Linked DNA regions of Homo sapiens: regions 1, 2, 3, 4 and 5 are each linked to region 6. The links are contacts of gene promoters, found by promoter capture Hi-C in blood cells and fetal thymus (Javierre and others, 2016). All regions are on one chromosome and are shown on one strand. The core of a region is centred on a gene start or on the middle of the fragment in contact, and the rest is flanking DNA. Distances in the headings are between cores, read along the strand shown.

What was found. Contacts are between HindIII fragments. The CHiCAGO score rates a contact against its expected background, and 5 or more counts as called.
Region 1: a fragment that was not itself captured here is called in contact with the fragment with the promoter of KIF26B in region 6 in 6 of 17 cell types (endothelial precursors, total CD8 T cells, naive CD4 T cells and 3 more); the score reaches 9.0 in endothelial precursors.
Region 2: a fragment that was not itself captured here is called in contact with the fragment with the promoter of KIF26B in region 6 in 3 of 17 cell types (naive B cells, total B cells and total CD4 T cells); the score reaches 6.1 in naive B cells.
Region 3: a contact is called between a fragment that was not itself captured here and the fragment with the promoter of KIF26B in region 6, in 1 of 17 cell types (endothelial precursors). The highest score is 6.0, in endothelial precursors.
Region 4: a contact is called between a fragment that was not itself captured here and the fragment with the promoter of KIF26B in region 6, in 1 of 17 cell types (M2 macrophages). The highest score is 5.9, in M2 macrophages.
Region 5: a fragment that was not itself captured here is called in contact with the fragment with the promoter of KIF26B in region 6 in 1 of 17 cell types (naive B cells); the score reaches 5.2 in naive B cells.

The regions. Positions count from the first base shown.
Region 1 is chr1:245,889,131-245,892,402 of GRCh38, forward strand. The region is part of intron 8 of SMYD3 (SET and MYND domain containing 3); the gene reads right to left. Among named protein-coding and RNA genes, the nearest start is that of SMYD3-AS1, 220 kb to the right of the region's middle. The HindIII fragment of the contact is 554 bases long and covers 1,120-1,673 here.
Region 2 is chr1:246,027,008-246,030,297 of GRCh38, forward strand. The region is part of intron 5 of SMYD3 (SET and MYND domain containing 3); the gene reads right to left. Among named protein-coding and RNA genes, the nearest start is that of SMYD3-AS1, 80 kb to the right of the region's middle. The HindIII fragment of the contact is 5,377 bases long and covers 1-3,290 here.
Region 3 is chr1:245,872,346-245,875,453 of GRCh38, forward strand. All of the region lies in intron 8 of SMYD3 (SET and MYND domain containing 3), which reads right to left. Among named protein-coding and RNA genes, the nearest start is that of SMYD3-AS1, 230 kb to the right of the region's middle. The HindIII fragment of the contact is 1,305 bases long and covers 651-1,955 here.
Region 4 is chr1:245,795,313-245,798,417 of GRCh38, forward strand. All of the region lies in intron 10 of SMYD3 (SET and MYND domain containing 3), which reads right to left. Among named protein-coding and RNA genes, the nearest start is that of SMYD3-AS1, 310 kb to the right of the region's middle. The HindIII fragment of the contact is 2,658 bases long and covers 1-2,619 here.
Region 5 is chr1:246,096,046-246,098,935 of GRCh38, forward strand. All of the region lies in intron 5 of SMYD3 (SET and MYND domain containing 3), which reads right to left. Among named protein-coding and RNA genes, the nearest start is that of SMYD3-AS1, 11 kb to the right of the region's middle. The HindIII fragment of the contact is 3,993 bases long and covers 1-2,890 here.
Region 6 is chr1:245,153,640-245,156,598 of GRCh38, forward strand. KIF26B (kinesin family member 26B) reads left to right here and starts at 1,346. Exons shown (of 15, transcript NM_018012.4): 1 at 1,346-1,848; 2 at 2,643-2,959. The coding sequence starts at 1,786. RefSeq lists enhancers at 1-157, 158-833 and silencers at 688-887, 2,755-2,959. The HindIII fragment of the contact is 4,692 bases long and covers 1-2,959 here.

The DNA of each region.
Region 1 (3,272 bases), core at 147-2,646, 740 kb after region 6:
AAGTTAGGTAAGGTCAAACATGTCATGTTTTAAAGGCTTTGAGCATGTACTATGGACCAAAAGCATAAGCCTTCAAGTTCACTGTTGAGCCCGATTAACAGATAAGGGGAAAATGTACTTTTTGAGAAAAATAAATAGGTTATTTTTGCATGGCACCATGTTCTCTTAATTTCTATAGAGAGTGAGATAACAGAAGTGACTAGAATACCTTTTTCTCCTTCTAGGACATCCTTCCCATTGACACTGGAGGGGCCAACTACATGTTTTAATCAGAGCCCACAGCTGCCCACACCCACTGCAGAGTGAGCTACTCTCCACCAACCCTGCAGCCCTGAAGTTTCTGTGACCACTGAAGAGGTCTGTTTTCAGACTTAGGGTCAAAGTGTGGGTGACCTCCAACACCTACTGTAATGAAGGAATAAATGTCAATAGAAGCCTTGTCTGGTCTCTGTCCCAAGGCATTTTATTATTTGTTTCATTGTGAGATTCCAAATGTGGTCTTACTCAGAAAAGAACAATAATTCTTACATGGCAAATTCTGAAAGAGGCATCAATGCAATCCCTCTCAAAATACCAATGACATTCTTCACAGAAACAGAAAAACTAATCCCCAAATTTATATGGAACCACAAAAGGTCCAGAATAGCCAAAGCCATTCTGAGCAAAAAGAACAAAACTGAAGGAATCACATTACCTGACTTCAAATTATACTACAGAGCTATAGTAACCAAAACAGCATGGTACTGGCATAAAAACAGACACACAGACCAATGGAAAGAAATAGAGAATCCAGAATTAAATCCATACATCTGCAGTGAACTCATTTTTGACAAAGGTGCCAAGAACATACACTGGGGGAAGGATAGTCTTCAATAAATGGTGCCGGGAAAACTGGATGTGCAGAAGAATGAAACTAGATTTCTATCTCTCACTATATAAAACAATTAACCAAGATGGATTAACGACTTAAATTTAAGACCCTCAAACTACGAAACTACTAAAAGAAAACACTGGGGAAACTCTCCAGGACATTGGTGTGGGCAAAGATTTCTTGAGTAACATCCCAAAAGCACAGGCAACCAAAACAAAAATGGACAAATGGGATCACATCAAGTTAAAAGCTTCTACACAGCAAAGAAAACAATGAACAAAGTAAAGAGACAACCCACAGAATGGGTGAAAATATCTGCAAACTACCCATCTGACAAGGAATCAATAACTAGGATATATATAAGGACTTCAAACAACTGAATAAGGAAAAAAATCTAACAATCTAACAATCTGGGCAAAAGATCTAAATAAACATTTCTCAAAAGACGACATACAAATGGTGAACAGGTATAAGAACATCCCGCATCATCAAAGAAATGCAAATCAAAACTACAATGAGATATCATCTCACCACAGTTAAAATGGCTTTGATCCAAAAGATAGGGAGTAACATATGCTGACAAAGATGTGGAAAAAAAGGGAACCCTCGCACACTATTGTTGGGAATGTAAATTAGTACATCTACTATGGAAAACTGTATGAAGGGTCCTCGAAAAACTAAAATAGAACTACCATTGATCCAGCAATCTCACTGGTAGGTATATACGCAAATGAAAGGAAATCAGTATATCGAAGAGGTATCTGCACGCCCATGTTTATTGCACTACTATTCACAATAGCTAAGCTTTGGAAGCAACCTGAGTGTCTGTTGATAGATGAATAAAGAAAACATGGTACATATACACAATGGAGTACTAGTCAGCCATAAACAAGAATGAGATCCTATCACTTGCAACAGCAAGGATGGAATGGGAGGACATTGTGTTCAATTAAACTAGCCAGACACAGAAAGACCAACTTCACATGTTCTCACTAATTTGTAGGAGCTAAAAATTAAAAGAATTTAACTCATGGAGATAGAGAGTAGAATGATGGTTACCAGAGCCTGGGAAGGTAGTGGGCAAGGGAGGGAACGGGGGATGGTTAATGGGTACAAAAATATAATCAGATAGAATGAATAACATCTACTATTTGATACAACAGGGTGACCAGAGTCTACAATAATTTACTGTACATTTAAAAATTACTGAAGAAATATAATTGGAATATTTGTACCACAAAAGAAATGATAAATGCTTGAGGCAATGGATACCCCATTTATCCTAACATGATTATTACACATTGTATGACAGTATCAAAATATTTATCTCATGTACCCATAAATATACACGCCTACTCTGTAGCCATAAACATTCAAAATTTAAAAATACAAAAATAAATAATGTTTACAAAAGAGGATTGGTCTCTTGGGAAATAAACTGCAGAGACAGCCCAGGATGACATCCACTTTGTCCAGGAATCTGGGGGGAGGGGAGCAATGACCTGGATGTGACTCTGTGCAGTGCCACTCATGCTGTCTTCTTACTCAGCTGTACTTCCCTTCCTTCTGCTATGTACACCCCCTCAGTGACAGCAATGTCGGGAACTGTAGGGGTGAAGAGGACAGCACGAGTAGTGATGAAGGACAGTGATATGCCCCCTAAGTCTGGACAAAGGTCAGCTTACTTCTGGAAGGAGAGCCCAGGTTAGGAAGTGCAGGGGAGCAAGCCAGGAAGAATACAAGAATGAAAAACAAGCTGAGCTGAGCATGGTGGCTCACACCTGTAATCCCAACAGTTTGGGAGGCAGAGGCAGGAGGACTGCTTGATCCCAGAAGCTGAAGACTAGCCTGGGCAATACAGTGAGACTCCATCTCTACAAAAATATTTTTAAAAATTAGCAGGGCATGGTGGCACACGCCTGTAGCCCCAGCTACTGAGGAGGCTGACATGGGAGGATTGCCTGAGCCCAGGAGTGAGCCATGAACACACCACTGCACTTCAGCCTGGGCGAAAGAGTGACGCCCTGTCTCAAAACAGAAAAAAGAAAGAAAGAAAAACACCAACCACCCCAGCACAGTGACCACTGGAACCAAACCAAACAAGAGGCACTAGGCACAAAAAAAGGGGGAAGAAAGCAGAGACAACTAAAAATTGGAACAGGAGGAGTTAAAAAACTGTTAAGAAAATTATGTGAACAATTCAGAGACTCTGATCAGCAAATGATGGGAACTGAGGATGCTGTATTTCTTGGAACCTCCCAAATAGACTATTTCCCCAGATCATTCAATAATAATAATGGCTACCATTACCAAGCATCTACCATCTCCCAATCTATACATATATTATCTAATTATCTAATTGAACCCTTAAAGTAGCTTTGCCAGGTTTAGAGTATTCTCA
Region 2 (3,290 bases), core at 98-2,597, 870 kb after region 6:
GTGAGACAGCCTTATTGCTGATAGGGAGAAAGTCTGAGTGATCTGGACAGAAGATCAAATAAGCCACAATATTCCCTTAAGCCAAAGCCTAATCCAGAGGAAAGCCCTAACTTGCTTAAATTCTATAAAGGCTGAGAGAGGTGAGAAACGACAGAAGAAACGGTGGAAAGTAGCAGAGGTTGGTTCATGAGGTTTAAGGAAAGAAGCCATCTCCGTAACTTAAAACTGCAAGGTGACGTTGCAGCAAGTTATCAAGAAGATCTAGCTGAGATGACTGATGAGGGTGGCAACAAGGAAAAGCAGACTTTCAGTGTAGATGAAACCGCCTTATATTGGGATGAGATACCATCTAAGACTTCCATAACTAGAGGAGAGGTCAATGCTTTGCTTCAAAACTTCAAAAGACAGAATGACTCTCTTGTTAGGGTCTAATGCCAGCTGGTGACTTTAAGTTGAAGCAAATGTTCATTTACCATTTAAAAAATCCTACAGCCCTTAAGAACTGTGGTAAATCTGTACTGCCCATGTTCTACCAATGTAATAACAAAGCCTGGGTGACAGCATATCTGTTTTTAAGCATAGTTTACTGAATATCTGAAGTCCATTCTTGTGACCTACTGCTCAGGAATAAGATTGCTTTGAAAACATTACTGTTGATTGACAACGCACCTAGTCATCCAAGAGCTCCGATGGAGATGTACAAGAAGACGAATGCTGTTTTCTTGCCTACTAACACAAAATCTAGTCTTCAGCCCATGGATCAAGGAGTAATTCAACTTTCAAGTCTTATTATTTAAGAAATACATTTTGTAAGGCTATAGCTGCCATCAATATTGATTCTTCTGATGGATCTGGGGACAGTAAATTGAAAACCTTCTGGAAAGGATTCACTATTCCAGACACCATTAGGAACACTCATACTTCATAGAAGGAGATCAAAATATCAACATTAACAAGAGTTTGGAAGGTTGATTCCAATCCTCATGGATGACTTTGAGGGGGTCAAATCTTCAGTGAAGAAAGTAATCAGAAATGAAAAACAAGGCATTACAACTGATACCACAGAAATACAAAGGATCATTAGAGACTGTTACGAACAACAATCTTGACAATGCTGACAAACTGAAAAACCTAAAGGAAATAAATCCTAGACATACACAACCTACCAAAATTGAATTAGGAAGAAGGAGAAAACCTGAAAAAATCAATAATGAGTAGTGGAAGTCCTAGTCAGAGCAACCAGGCAAGAGAAAGAAACAAAGGGCATCCAAATTGGAAAAAAGGAAGTCAAATTGTCCCTCTTTGTGAATGACATAATCCTATATACAGAAAAATCTAAAGACTCCACCAAAAAACTCTTTGAACTGATAAATGAATTCAGTAAAGTTGCAAGATACAAAATCAATATACAAAACTATACATCAATAACGAAGTAGTGAAAAAAGAAATTAGAAAAGCAATTCCACTTACAACAGCTACAAAAACATAAATAAAGTATCTAACAATAAATTTATTGAAGGAGGAGAGAGAACTCTAGAAGGACAACTATGAAACACTGATGGTAGAAACTGAAGAGAATACAAACAAATGGAGATGTCCCATGCTTATAAATTGGAAGAATTAATATTGTTAAGATGACCATGCTACCCAAAGCAATCTACAGATGTAATGTAATACCTGTCAAAATACCAAACCACATGTTTCACAGAAATATTTTTTTAAATCCTAAAATTTGTATGGAAACACAAAAGACCATGAATAGCCAAAGCAATAATGAGCAAAAATAACAAAACAGGAAGTATCACACTACCTGACTTCAAAATATGCTACAAAGCTATAGGAACCAAAACCATATGGTACTGGTATAAAAACAAACACACAAACCATTAGCATAGAATAGAGAACCTAGAGATAAATTCACATATTTACAGCCAACCAATTGTAAAATGTGTCAAGAAAACAGACTGAGGAAAAGACACCCTGTTCAATAAATGGTGTTGGGAAGATTCCATATCCAAAGCAGAAGAGTGAAAGGAGACCATTATCACTGTATACAAAAGTAAACTCAAAATGAATTAAAGATTTGAACATAGGACCCAAAACTATAAAACTACTAGAAGAAAACACTTCAGGACATTGGTCTAGGCAAATATTTTATGGCTAAGACCTCAAAAGTACAGCCAACAAAAATAGACAAATGGCACTATATTAAACTAAAAGGTTTCTGTACAGCAAAGAAAACAATCAAGAGACTGAAGAGACAATCTGTAGCAATAAATATTTGCAAATTACATGTTCAGCAAGGAATTAATATCCAAAATATAATCCAGTTAAAAAGTGGGCAAATGATATGAATAGAAATGTCTCAAAAGAAAATATGCAGGCCAGGCACGGTGGCTCATGCCTGTAATCCCAGCACCTTGGGAGACAGAGGCGGGCAGATCACCTGAGGTCAGGAGTTCAGACCAGCCTGGCCAAAATGGTGAAACCCCATCTCTACTAAAAATACAAAAAATTAGCCAGGCGTGGTGACACACGCCTGTAATCCCAGCTACCCAGGAGGCTGAAGCAGGAGAATTGCTTGAGCCCGGGAGACAGAGGTTGCAGTGAGCCAAGATCCTACCACTGCACTCCAGCCTGGCTGACAGAGTGAGACTCTGTCTCAGAAAAAAAAAAAAAAAAAGAAAGAAAAAGAAAAAGAAAATATGCAAATGGCCAGCAAATATATGAAAAAATGTTCAACATCACTAATCACCAGGGAAATACGAATCAAAACCACAATGAAATATCATCTTACCACAGTTAGGATGGCTGTTATCAAAAAAAGAAAAGATAACATGCTGGTGAAAATGCAGAGAAAAGGGAACTCACACACTGTTGGTGGGAATGCAAATAGGTACAGCCACTGTAGAAAAGAGCACAGCATTTCCACAAAAAAACTAAAAGAGAACTACCATAGGATCCAGCAATCCCAGCACTGGGTTTCCTTTCTTTCTTTCTTTTTTTTTTTTTTTTTTACAAAAGAAAGGAAATCAAAGGGATACGCACACCCCCAATGCGTATTGCAGCACTATTCACAATAGCTAAGATACTGAATCAACCTAAATATCCATCAGTGGATATTTAACTCCATAAAAGACATACAAGTAACACCACTCTACTTTCACGCATGAAGCATTAATGGATAAAGAAAACATAGATACAGACATGATGGAGTACTATTCAGCCATAGAAAAGAATGGAATCCTGTCATTTGCAGCAACAGGAATGAGCCCGAAGGACATTATGTT
Region 3 (3,108 bases), core at 53-2,552, 720 kb after region 6:
CCGCCTCCTGCTGCTTCACCCATCTCCTGAGCTGGCCGACCCCAGGATGGATGTCCTCTTCTCAGATGAGAGAGCCCAGAGTTCCTGCCGCCTTCTCCTTCACCGGCCTCCCTGAGCTGGCCGACCCCAGGATGGATGTCCTCTTCTCAGATGAGAGAGCCTTCTCCCGTCGGGCAGCCCCGTCACTCCCTTGGATCCAACTGAGGAGCACTTGGGCAACCAGGGGCTGTGAGCCCAATCCAAACAAAAATGCTCGTGGTGAGGAGAAGAAGTCATCAAACAGCTGAAGCCACTGGCAGCTCTGTTCCATTTCACTTTACATTCCCACCGTCGCTGCCAGCATTTGCCAAATGCCCATTTAGCTTTAGATCTCAGGCAGAAACAGGGCTCTCCTGCAACTACAAATTTCCACAAACCACACATTCAAACCAACTGCGATTTCAAGGTTCAATCTCCAGCTACACAGAATTGCCAGAAGGAAGGGGATATTCCCTTCATAGCTTCTGGGAAACGGAGCACAGCCTTGAAGGTATGAAGTCAGAACTTCTAGAACCACCAAAGGCCTTTTCCGGCTACAGCCTCAACACCTCCCCTCCCTCTGTGTGGGGTTGTTCCCATCCCAGTGAATAAAACTGCTTCTCAGAGAAATAAGCTTATTTGCTTATATAAAATCAAGTCAACCTGGAGAGAATAAAAACAGCATCTACACGTTGAGGGCAGTTTGAGAGCCTACCTCTTGTCAGTGGTGCTTGCTAAAAATGAGCCTTCTGTAGAAAAGCATTTTGTAGAAAACTAGCATGATGGGCTGATATACAAGGCAGTTAAACACACATGAATACATTTAGGAAGGAGACACTTGCTTGCACCCTCCCCCCATACTGGAAAGGTATGTTCCTGATGTAATAACATATAATGGGGATTAGATGACACAGAGGGCTATGAGCTCCACTTGCAAATGCACATTCAGACAAATTCTTTTCACATCTGTAGAGAGACTACCAAATGGATGGCTTAGGCTGCTGTAAGCCCATACTCACAACTCCTACCCAAGTCCTGCCAATACTGTTGTGTAAACGCTACCAGGTGGGAGGTTTGAGATTCTGGGAAAAATGCAAAGATTTTACAGGAAAATTGTTCTCCTGACAATAGCCATTAAGATAAAGTACACCTCCAAAGTTCAGGGTGAGTTTTGTCTTAATGAAGACCAAAGCTGCAGCCCTCATCTCCTTTAATCGGCCACATCTCCATCTTTTGTATTTTCTTCTTTGAGGACAGATGCTCTCATTCTCCTCTGCCAACAGAGATAAAAATGCTTTAAGCTGCCGCAGAACAGATTCAAGTGAGGTTTAAAGGGCAGTGTCCCGAAGGCGAAGGTTATAGGATAACCTAGATGTGGCCACTCCAGAGACATTCAGACATGGGATGAATGATAGCTTGATTTGGGTTCTGTGCTGTTGGCATGTAAGACTGTGTGACAGGCAGCACTACGGAAGTGGAACTAAGGAGGCCGGGCCCTGGTACCAGCTCTGCCACTGGCCAGCTGTGAGGCCTAGAGTCTAACAGTGCCTCCTGGCTCCGCTTGCCCAGGTGAGAACTACATTAGGGTTACCACTGACATGGAAACTAATCCTTCCACTCCATTAGTCGCCTATGTGTAAAGTATATGTTGTCCATGAAAACAGACCTGAAATTCTGATAGGAAGGTTGCTGGGGTTTGTGATTGTGCAACAAATTGTAAATGCCTTTGTTCTGATTTGTCCCTCCTTCATTCTATTTTAAACTGAGTTTTCTCAAGTATAAACAACCCCAGCCATAGCACAGAGAGTCTACAGGACTGAAGACAACACTCAACATGGTACTACCTTCTGCCAAACCAAGAATTTGACAATGGTTATTTAATTCACACATTCCCTCTAACATTTGTATGTATAATGATTATAACAGGCAATATTCCAAGCTTGGGTAAACATGGTATTTGCTTATCTGCTAAAGCGAGCACATCAGATTATCTAATCTGTGGTTCTGAATTAAAGGAATAGTTTAGCTGGGGTCCACAATGACAGCTTCACATAACAAGTCCCTGAGACACAAGTCTAGACATAGCTTTTTAGGAGGCAATCTTACGGGTCATCTAAAGAAATGATTTATTTTGACATTAGAACCTCTCTCTTAACATCAGTTAATGGAGGGTTCCATAGCGTCCCCTAAGTCTTCAGAGTTGGGCTGCAGAAATTATCCCGTTCTACAAACACTTCATAAGGCAGCACTGAAATCCTTAGACCATGTGTCACACAAGCCAAAAGTTCAAAAGAAACATGTCGCTGTTCGAGGGAAAGAAATTACTTTAATCTCTCAGCCTTTAAAAAAAAATTCTAGAATTGTATTTTGTATCTCACTGGAAAAAAAGCCAGTGTTCCTCCAATTATTCTAAAACAAAAAAAGAAAAGTCTGTAGTCTGTGAATCAATCCATACAGAGATCTGTCCCTTGAAGCTGGAGGGTGGGTCACCCCAGAGGGCAGTCACTTGGCCTAAAGGTCTGGTGAGGAGAACACTACTTTGTAAAGTTTGGGAGGAGAGAGGGGTGACCAGATTCCATGGTACAGCTCTTTTGTGCCTCACCTCGTATCCATGAGACAGACTACACAAAATCACCAGGACTTAGACGCTCCTGCAAGCAGCTCTGCAGCCATGGAAGTGAAGTGCTGGCTGACGGCACGGCGAGCCGCTTCCTGGCACGCCAACAGAAAGCACATGTCTGCATTTTTGATTCCAGTAAACTCCAGGCTGGCTCTCAGCCAGAGGACCTCTTTGTAATGTCAAAGATAAAAGTACTGGCCATGTTTGGCACCCTGCCTCCACCTCCATTCTCTTGTAACCGTCTCATAAACCAAGCATGCATTACTGTTAACAGAGTCTTCCAGACAAAGGTCTGACGGAGCTTCATAAACATTAGCAGATGACGATCAGACAGGTCCCTACTGCACAGGAAGGAAAGGAGGTACAGGGAGGGGCAAGTGATTTCACTCAGAACATGCTGGAAATTGTGGGGAGAGCTGGAAATAGATATTCAACTATATACTCAGAATACTCCTACTACCAGAGAACTG
Region 4 (3,105 bases), core at 41-2,540, 640 kb after region 6:
TTACTTTTATCAGCCTCCCATCATAGTGAGGATGTCCTCTCTCATTTATCAACATCCCCGGTTTTCAGTAGTGAGCCTGACTCCACTTCCCATTTCACAGAGTACATATCTAGTCCCTGTTACATTCCAGGAGCCAAATTCCCAGCCATTTTGCCTCCTTTATCCGAGAGCCAGGTAGCCAGTGGCTTCAGCTCCATCACTTCTTTGCATTTCTCTTCTTTTTCAGATTCACTCGCTTTGAGCCTAGCTATATCTTTTTAATTTCCCATTGTTATATTTTGTCTCTTGTGGCCTAAAGCATGATCTAACCATGCCAGCTCACCAAGGAGTTCCCTGACTTTCTCTACAACCTCACCTCATGCCACGGGCCCATGCGCTCCAGTCACCTCCTTTGCTATCTCTTCAGTTCTCTGGTCAATCAAGATTTCTCCCACCTCAAGACCAGACACATGCATGAAGAGAAAGAGCCAAGCACTGAACGCTCTTGTCCCCTCTCTCCCTAAATACTATTCTCGGCCTTTTAATTTCAGCTTAAATACAGTCTCTCTCCCTAAATACTATTCTCAGCCTTTTAATTTCAGCTTAAATACAGTCTCAGAAGGCACTTTTCTGATCACTCTATCTTAGTAACCCTATCTCCCAATTGTTTATTAATTGGATCCAGTTAGTTGTCTTCAGAGCAAAGTTGCAAACAGTCACAAGATCGCCCAAACCACAGCTTACAGGCCACACTTCTTTTTGGTAAGATGTACCTACACCACTAACATTGACAGTGGTGCTGCCTACAAATATAAAGGTCAAGGATATGTACAGGTATGGCCCAATGTGAAAGACAGCAGACTTCTTGGGTTGGGAAGTCTGAGTTTCTTTTCAGGACTCAGATGATGAAATTACCTGGAACTTAAGGTATTATGTCCAATAATCAAATAGTCTCTTGTTTCAATATTTTATCAAAAATAAAATATAATAAAACCTTATTGGGACGAATTGGGATGATGAAACATCCAAATTAATGGAGATTTGGAATTCTAGATTTTTTTTTTAATAAAATGGAGACTGATTTCTTGTAACCCTGTACAACAGCACAGAGTAATGGTTTACAGGACACTGCCAAATAGAGACCCTGCCAGGACCTACTTTAATGAACAGTAAAGAACTGTCTATGATCAACTATCTTTTTAGCGGGGATAGCATGCTGTAAAGGCAGCATGAATGGGCTAGCATTTCCCCTATAATTTCCTACATATTTATGATTTTCACAGGAAACAATTTTTTTCCATCTACAGACACTGGAAATGTGAGTATCAGCTCTCTCTCTACAGTACCATAAATTCAAAATCAGTGAGGCCAGATCAATGAAATTTGATACGCACAAAACTCTTGCATATTCTCATGTGAGTGTGGAGGAGAGCAGAGTGTCATCAAGACTCCACTCCACAGCCATAGTCTCCGCATCTGCAGTTAGCTCTTTTAGGACAGCTAGATCACTGCTCCATTCTATTAGCTCCAAACATACTGCAACCACCTGTTGAAGCTGGGAAGGCTCAGCATTTTTTTCTCTTTCTCCCACTGGCTCTGCAGAAAGCATCACAATTCCAATTAGTCTGTCAAAAACGAAAGGCCATGACTTAAGGTGCAAAACACCTATGAAATAATGAATTTGGAAGGACAGGAGGAGACATATCTGTACCGGTTAGTGTACTCAAGAATCAGGCTATAGAGGAAATTGCTTCTTTGGTAGTGTAAATACAAAGTTTTCAAGAATAGTTACTACAAGGCACTTTCTATTCAAGTACCAAATTGTGAGATACAGAATATGAGGGGATTTGGTGAATGTTTTCCTTTGAACAGGGCTTTACTTCAGGTCCATACCCAAAGGAATATCAATCATGCTGCTATAAAGACACATGCACACGTATGTTTATTGCAGCAGTACTCACAATAGCAAAGACTTGGAACCAACCCAAATGTCCAACAATGATAGACTGGATTAAGAAAATGTGGCATATATACACCATGGAATACTATGCAGCCACAAAAAAGGATATTTCATGTCCTTTGTAGGGACATGGATGAAGCTGGAAACCATCATTCTCAACAAACTATCACAAGGACAAAAAACCAAACACCACATGTTCTCACTGATAGGTGGGAACTGAACAATGAGAACGCTTGGACACAGGAAGGGGAACATCACACACTGGGGCCTGTGGTGGGGTGGGGGGAGGGGGTAGGATAGCATTAGGAGATATACCTAATGTAAATGACAAGTTAATGGGTGCAGCACACCAACATGGCACATGTATACATATGTAACAAACCTGCACGTTGTGCACATGTACCCTAGAACTTAAAGTATAATTATATATAGATAGATAGATAGATATAAAGAAAAGAAAAGAAAAGAAAAAGAAACGGCCAACTCTAAGGAGATTTCAGGTCCACTGCAGACGCCCCCTACTGGCCGGTTTTCAAAGCTATGCCAAGACATGTCCTCTCAATTGCTTCCGGGTTCCAAAAAAAAAAAAAAAAAAAAGGTGGATCAAGACACCAGCGAGGCTCATTGCTTGTGGTCTGCTTCTTATGTGTTCTAGGGAATTTTATTTTCAAAAGCTACAAAGCTTTTCACAATATGGGTTTGAGGATGCTCAGTACGTGAGAATTTTGGGTTGAGGTACAGAAACCAGATAAAGCCTTGTTCATTTGCTCATTCGGCATCAACGTCCAGTGTGTCCCAATGTAAATGAATCACTGTCTAGAAAGTAGAAACATTCTTATTTTTTTTTTTAAAATATGCAACTCTTGGCTATTACTGGCTATTTCATATTCCAGGAAAGCACAGAGGATTCTGCACTGAGCTGCTGCAGGCGAGCTCACTCCTACCCAGCTCCTTAGCCTGGCCTGCGCCATCACCCAGTAGTGCCTGTGTCGAGCTGGTCTGCAGTCCCTGAGCCCCTTCCCTACCCTCAAAAGAGGAAGCAATTTCCAGTGGGAGCCAGAGCGGCCCCGGCCCATGGGGAAGGGCAGACTGAGAAGCCTTCTGAGGGAAGGATCTTGACCTGTCAACACACACACGCGCACACACACACACACATACACACACAT
Region 5 (2,890 bases), core at 163-2,662, 940 kb after region 6:
AAAATATTTCCCCCATGAACAGCACACGTGCAATTCTGTGAGAACAGAGTAAATAAAACCGATATATATCAAACAGTACCTTTTCTGCAGTTGAGAGGTAAGCAAAAGCATCCTCTGTTTAATAAACAAGAAAAAAATGTTAAGGAAGAATGTAGAATAGGTTGCCACCAAATATGCAAATGCATTCACGCTTAATACCTATTCTTAGCTGAAGTGTCTAGAGGTTGCTTTGTGTCTTGCGCATCAATCTCAGAGCAAGCAGAATAGATGATCTGAAATATTAATCCTAAACGGGTCTTGCCAGTGGGCAGCTGTGGGCTCGCAGAACCTCTGTGTAGACAGTCTCATTACCTACTTGTTCAGGCCTCTTTGCTGGCAAAAAGTATAGCTGAATAAACAGAAAGACAAGATCTGCAATGCCTCAGCGCTCAGAAAATTATGACGATGGGAAGAATGAAGCTCTGAGGTCAAAATCTTTTAAACAGCAATAATCTTTGCACTACATCAGACACCTGGCAATCTCAGTCCATTGTACTTATGGGAATGCTTTTTAGATGTTCTGATTAATACGGGTACTTGGGAGCCTAAACACAAAGACCTAACTAGAATACATTGCAATTCTGAGCCTCAGGCAATGTATATGAAAAAGATACCAGAACTAACTTTTGTTGAATAAAAGGATTCACGGTTCTTGCAAATGGTTATGATTGTAACAAATGTTTATCATTGTAACAAATGGTTATCATTGTAACTCTAATTCCAGTTACGTGACAACAAGTACAGTTTATGGGAAAAGACATGTGCAACAACCACCAAATGATCTGTCCATCTTACCAAAGACAATGAAATGATGAGTCCCTGCTAGTTTCTAGATATTATTTATCCAAGTTGTTGATTTGTAGGTGCTCATTCCATTTTCTCCTACATAATCCAGTAATCTATAATCCAGTAAGAAACTCACAACATAGACATGCAATTTACAGTTTCTGCATAGGGTCATTAAAAATTCTTTCATTACAAAGTATTTCTTGGATTCTTAAATATTTGGAAAATGCACAAAACACGTGAAAAATATAGTTGTTCAGACAAAGAAACGTCATTCTGATCTCATGTTTTCTCCCCAGGAACAGACTTCACAGCAATCCATTCCCTTTACATTTATTGTTTCCTTAACTTGCACCAAGCCTGAGGAGGTCAGTGCTTGGCACACATTAAGAAAACAATAAATAGGGAGGGGGTTACAAACTATGCTGATTCCCTGTTCTATGCCTCACTCTGGGTGAATTCAACCGTCTGAAGGGATAGCAAAGTCAGAAGTATGTGGCAAGCAGCAGGATGCCGAGATGGTTCCAGCTCAGACAAGGTTCCAGGAGAGAGAGCCTACCCATCTTTCCCAGGCCAAAATGTTTTCCATGTAATAAAGGTCACCAGTGGTTGCCAATATGCGTATACGAACTATATTGGCTTGGTCAGAGTTAGCTGGAAAAGCAAAAGCTCTGTAGTACTCCAGAGTTCTCAGATAGACCTGTCCAAAACCTCTCATTCCTTTGTTCCAACCTTTAATTTCCAACCCCCACAATCCCACCCCAGTTTCCAACCAGTACTTTCACCGAGAGGGCTGTACCACTGCCTGAGAAGTCACACAATACCTTCTGCTTCGTGACCAACTCAGACTTGGATATCTACCTGCTACCTATCATATCAATATGATGTAGAGGAGTGTCCGGGGCCCTAGACCTAAATCACTTTGTGTGGCACCTGCATCAGCCTTCCTTAGTGACAATCTTAAATCTAGTTGGTTTTCTTTGAGAATTTATTTCCTTCCCAAGTATATTTCTGTGATTAAAATTATGTGGTGTCAGAAGTTTAGTTTCAATTATATTTTACAGACACCCGTCTACATTAAATTTACCTTCTTGCTTTTCCACCATCCTTAGTTTTGTCGTAGTGTTTTTGTTGCAACCCTGTTCTTCCTTCCTGTGTCTAATTATTTAAAAATTACCACTAAACTGATTTTTATATTTTATTTCCATCAAGATAAACAAGATACAAATAGATGCCCTCAAAAAAGTTAATGATCAATTGGGTAAAACTATATCTATACCCGCACCCAAAAAGACAACATAATTCAATGCACACATGCAAATCAAGAACAAGAAAGATGATGGAATTAGCTCCAAAACTACTAACCTTCACATTAATCTGCCTCTTGCATGTCAATAGTTTATTTCAAATATTCGGTCCCTGTCAATCTAAGAAAGTCCTAAATCCAAAGCCCTGCGGGAATGACATGAGTTTCCTGGTGTCCAGCACACGTTCGAAATCCTGCTGTGTGAAGAGGGTTCAGAGAGGCCAAAAGGCACCATTCATGGACTTTAGGAGAAAATATTTTGTATTTTGTGCATTTAGAAAAAGGCTACAATTTGAATGTTTAAATATTTAAAGCCAATAAACAAGGAGCTATTATTTAATTTTTAAAAAATCTTTTTTCAAATTTCCCTGGAATATTTTATTTCATTTACAAAATAAATGTATGAAGATGACAAAATCTTAGAACTTTTTTGAGGCTGAGTGACACACTTTATCTATACTGTTCTAAATTTTACATTAACAAAATTATGTTCATCACTTAGAATGTGACATTGTATTTAGAAAGTCAGCTTCCCTTGTCCTATTAAAATGGTATTTAGATTGTAAGTATTTTATTATACTCAACTTTTCAAAAACATAATTATTATATAAAGAAAGATATGTGTAGTTATATGTACATGTATATACACTCACACACACACATTTGTAATCCTTTCAGGCTTACACATAAACACATGTTAAAATATTGAAAAGCAGCTCCAAAAATAACTAAAATGTCATTTGCCAAACTACTTCTAGG
Region 6 (2,959 bases), core at 96-2,595:
TCCCCGAGGAAGGCAGAGTGGGGGCGTGGCCCCAGGCTTCCAGAACCCCGAACCTTTGTCTTCTTGCCCCCTCCTGCGTCGTCCACAGCTCAGAAGGAAGTCAGCGACCAGAAAGCCCTGAACGTCCTTCGCGCCCTCGCCCACCCCCGGGCTGGGTCTCCCCGCGGGCGCGGAGATGCCGTTACACCCCACGTGATCCCTGCGCCCGGCCAGTCCTTCCAGAGGCGTCTCGCGGGGTGTTAATTAAAGGTCACAACAAAACAGACCTGCTGGCTCACCAGAAGAAATGTCCTCCCGTGAAATGAAAAATGACACCCCAGAGCAGCCACGTGTGGAGCCTGGCATACGCCGGCTTCCTGCGCTCCTGGGCGCTGCGCCGGGGGACTGGGGCGGGGGGCGATCGGAGAGGGAGCGATGACGGGGTGCTCCGGAGACCCCGCGGGGCCCAGGCGCAGGAAGAAACGGGCGGCGGGGGGCGAGGGGCCCGATCCCACGCAAGGAGAGGCCAAGGCCAGCTCGCGCCACACCCCCTCTCCAGGCCAGAGTCGTCCGCGTGCAGCGCGGCGAAGCCCTCAGTTTCCCCTGCCCGGCAGCGGCCCGCTGGGTCACCAGGCTCACCTGTCCCAGCCCCGGGCGGCTTAGTCCATCACAGACCGGGGCTCGGGCGGGCGGGGGACCAAGGGCCCTAGTCCTGCGGCTGCGGTCGGGGAGGGTGGCCCCCCGGCCGGCCCGGGGTCGGTAGGGCAATTCCAGAAAAGGTTTGCCCGGCAGCTCTCCGAGAACAAAGGGCGGGGGGAGGACCCGGCATGTTTGTGGACTTGTTTGTGACTCAATCCCTTTTGCACGGCGTTTCACAGACAGACCTGCAAGCCTTGTCAGGAAGAGAAAGAACTTGGGGGCGGGGGAGGCTGGGGCACCGCATTTCCGTCCAGCCACGCTCGCTCGCGCGGCCCCCGGGCTCCAGGCTCGCGCAGCGGCGTTTCATTAGAGCCCCGGGCCCGGGCCGCGCGCCAGGAACTTCCCCGCACGCGGCGAGATCGACGATCCCCCGCCCCCAGCCCCAGCCCGGCTCCAGGCCTCGCAATGTCAGGCACGAGCGCCGCCACATAAAATGGATCCCGGCCGGCGCGGCGAGGGCGGCAGGTTCCCGAGGCTCCTCCGCGCTGCGCCCGGGCGCACACGCGCGCTGTGACCGCCGACCGCTCCCGGGCCACGCGGAGCCGCCCCTCTCCCGGCCCTCGCGCAACTGTCAGGCGAAACGGGCCGGCGGATATTGGCTCGGCGACACGCCGAGGCTCCTCCCCGAGTCTGGATCTTTATATTTTGGGAGAATTTCTTTGAACTCAGTTACCAAGCTCGGTGAAGGAGACAAGTTCCCACAGCTGACTCGGCTCGGCTCTCCCACCTTCCCGGCAGCGGCCGCGAGCCCTGATTGTATCCCTCGCTTTCCTCGTGGGGGAGCACGGACTGACTTGGCTGAAGAAAATGCCAGTTCTGTGGATGTGGCCGTGACAAGAGGACGTGCGGCTGGAAGAGGCAGAAGGGGACGAGGAAAAGCATGCTTTGAAGAGAAGAATAAACCAGCGACCCCAACCCTTTCTGCAAATTGGTGCTATTACTTGTGGGATCCATTTGCTTTCATTCCCTCCCACCCCACCGCTGAAGAAACCTTGCCCTGAGGGCTGAGAGCCAGCCCCCTGCAGCCGGGGGACGCTTCTGGGTTGGAGGACCTTCTGGATGTAGCGTCGGTGGAACCTTTAGATACTCTCCTCTGGAAAAGCCACCATGAATTCGGTAGCTGGGAATAAAGAGAGGCTTGCGGTCTCCACCAGGGGCAAGAAATACGGGGTAAGTTGTGACGGTACGACGCGGAGACGCGTTACCAGACCCATCTCGGCGGAGGTCCCCCTTTCCCCGGGATCGTGCGGCCCCGGCCCCGAGCTCTCCCCCGCTGCAGAGGCGCCCCCGGGGCTGGCGGGGTTGTGAGTGCGCGGAGGCGGGTCGGCCGCGGGGACGCCCGCACGCTCGCCTCGCTCTCGGAATTTTTTCAGCCCTCTCGTTCCTTCCTTTCCACGCACCCGTAACTTTTGCCGCATTCCTGCACTTCTAGGCAGAGTGAAGCCGAAGGGGAGGGTTTCCCATGAATGCTGGGCAGTACCTCGGATCGTTTAGCTGGAGCCGTGAGAGCCTCTCGTTTACCTGCAGGATCCGGAGAGTTGGACCCCGTATGAATAAAAATCCTGAAATCACAGCCCTCCCCCTACCCCCCCCATAGGGTCTTCCAGGATTTTGTTCCCGGGATCTTGCTGGGATAGGTGCCGGCTTCAAAAGCGTGGGGCGCTGAACCTATGGATCCCCCCCGCCTTGCAGAAGCCGTGGAAACGGCCCCGAGCGAGTCCCCTTCCTGACCCCAGGAGGAGGCCACCGGGGACCAGCGCAGGGGTCACCTGGGCGGTGGGGACTCACTTAAGGACAATTAACGAGACAGACGGAGGGCAATTTGGCCGCAGGGCTTGGAGAGGTCCCCAACCGACTCCCGTGGGCGGTTCGAGCGGGTACTTGGTGGCGCACGTATGACCCAGCTCCTGGGCGCTGCAGCCCGCCGCCTTGCAGCCCCTGACACCGGCGTGTCTTCCCCGCAGGTGAATGAAGTCTGCTCGCCCACCAAGCCCGCAGCGCCCTTCTCCCCGGAAAGCTGGTACCGGAAAGCATACGAGGAGTCGCGCGCCGGCAGCCGGCCCACTCCTGAGGGCGCGGGCTCAGCGCTCGGCTCCTCGGGGACCCCGTCTCCCGGCTCGGGCACCTCGTCCCCGAGCTCGTTCACCGGCTCCCCGGGACCCGCCTCCCCCGGCATCGGCACTAGTTCGCCGGGCTCCTTGGGCGGCTCTCCGGGCTTCGGCACAGGCTCCCCGGGCTCCGGCAGCGGCGGCGGCTCCTCCCCCGGCTCGGACCGCGGCGT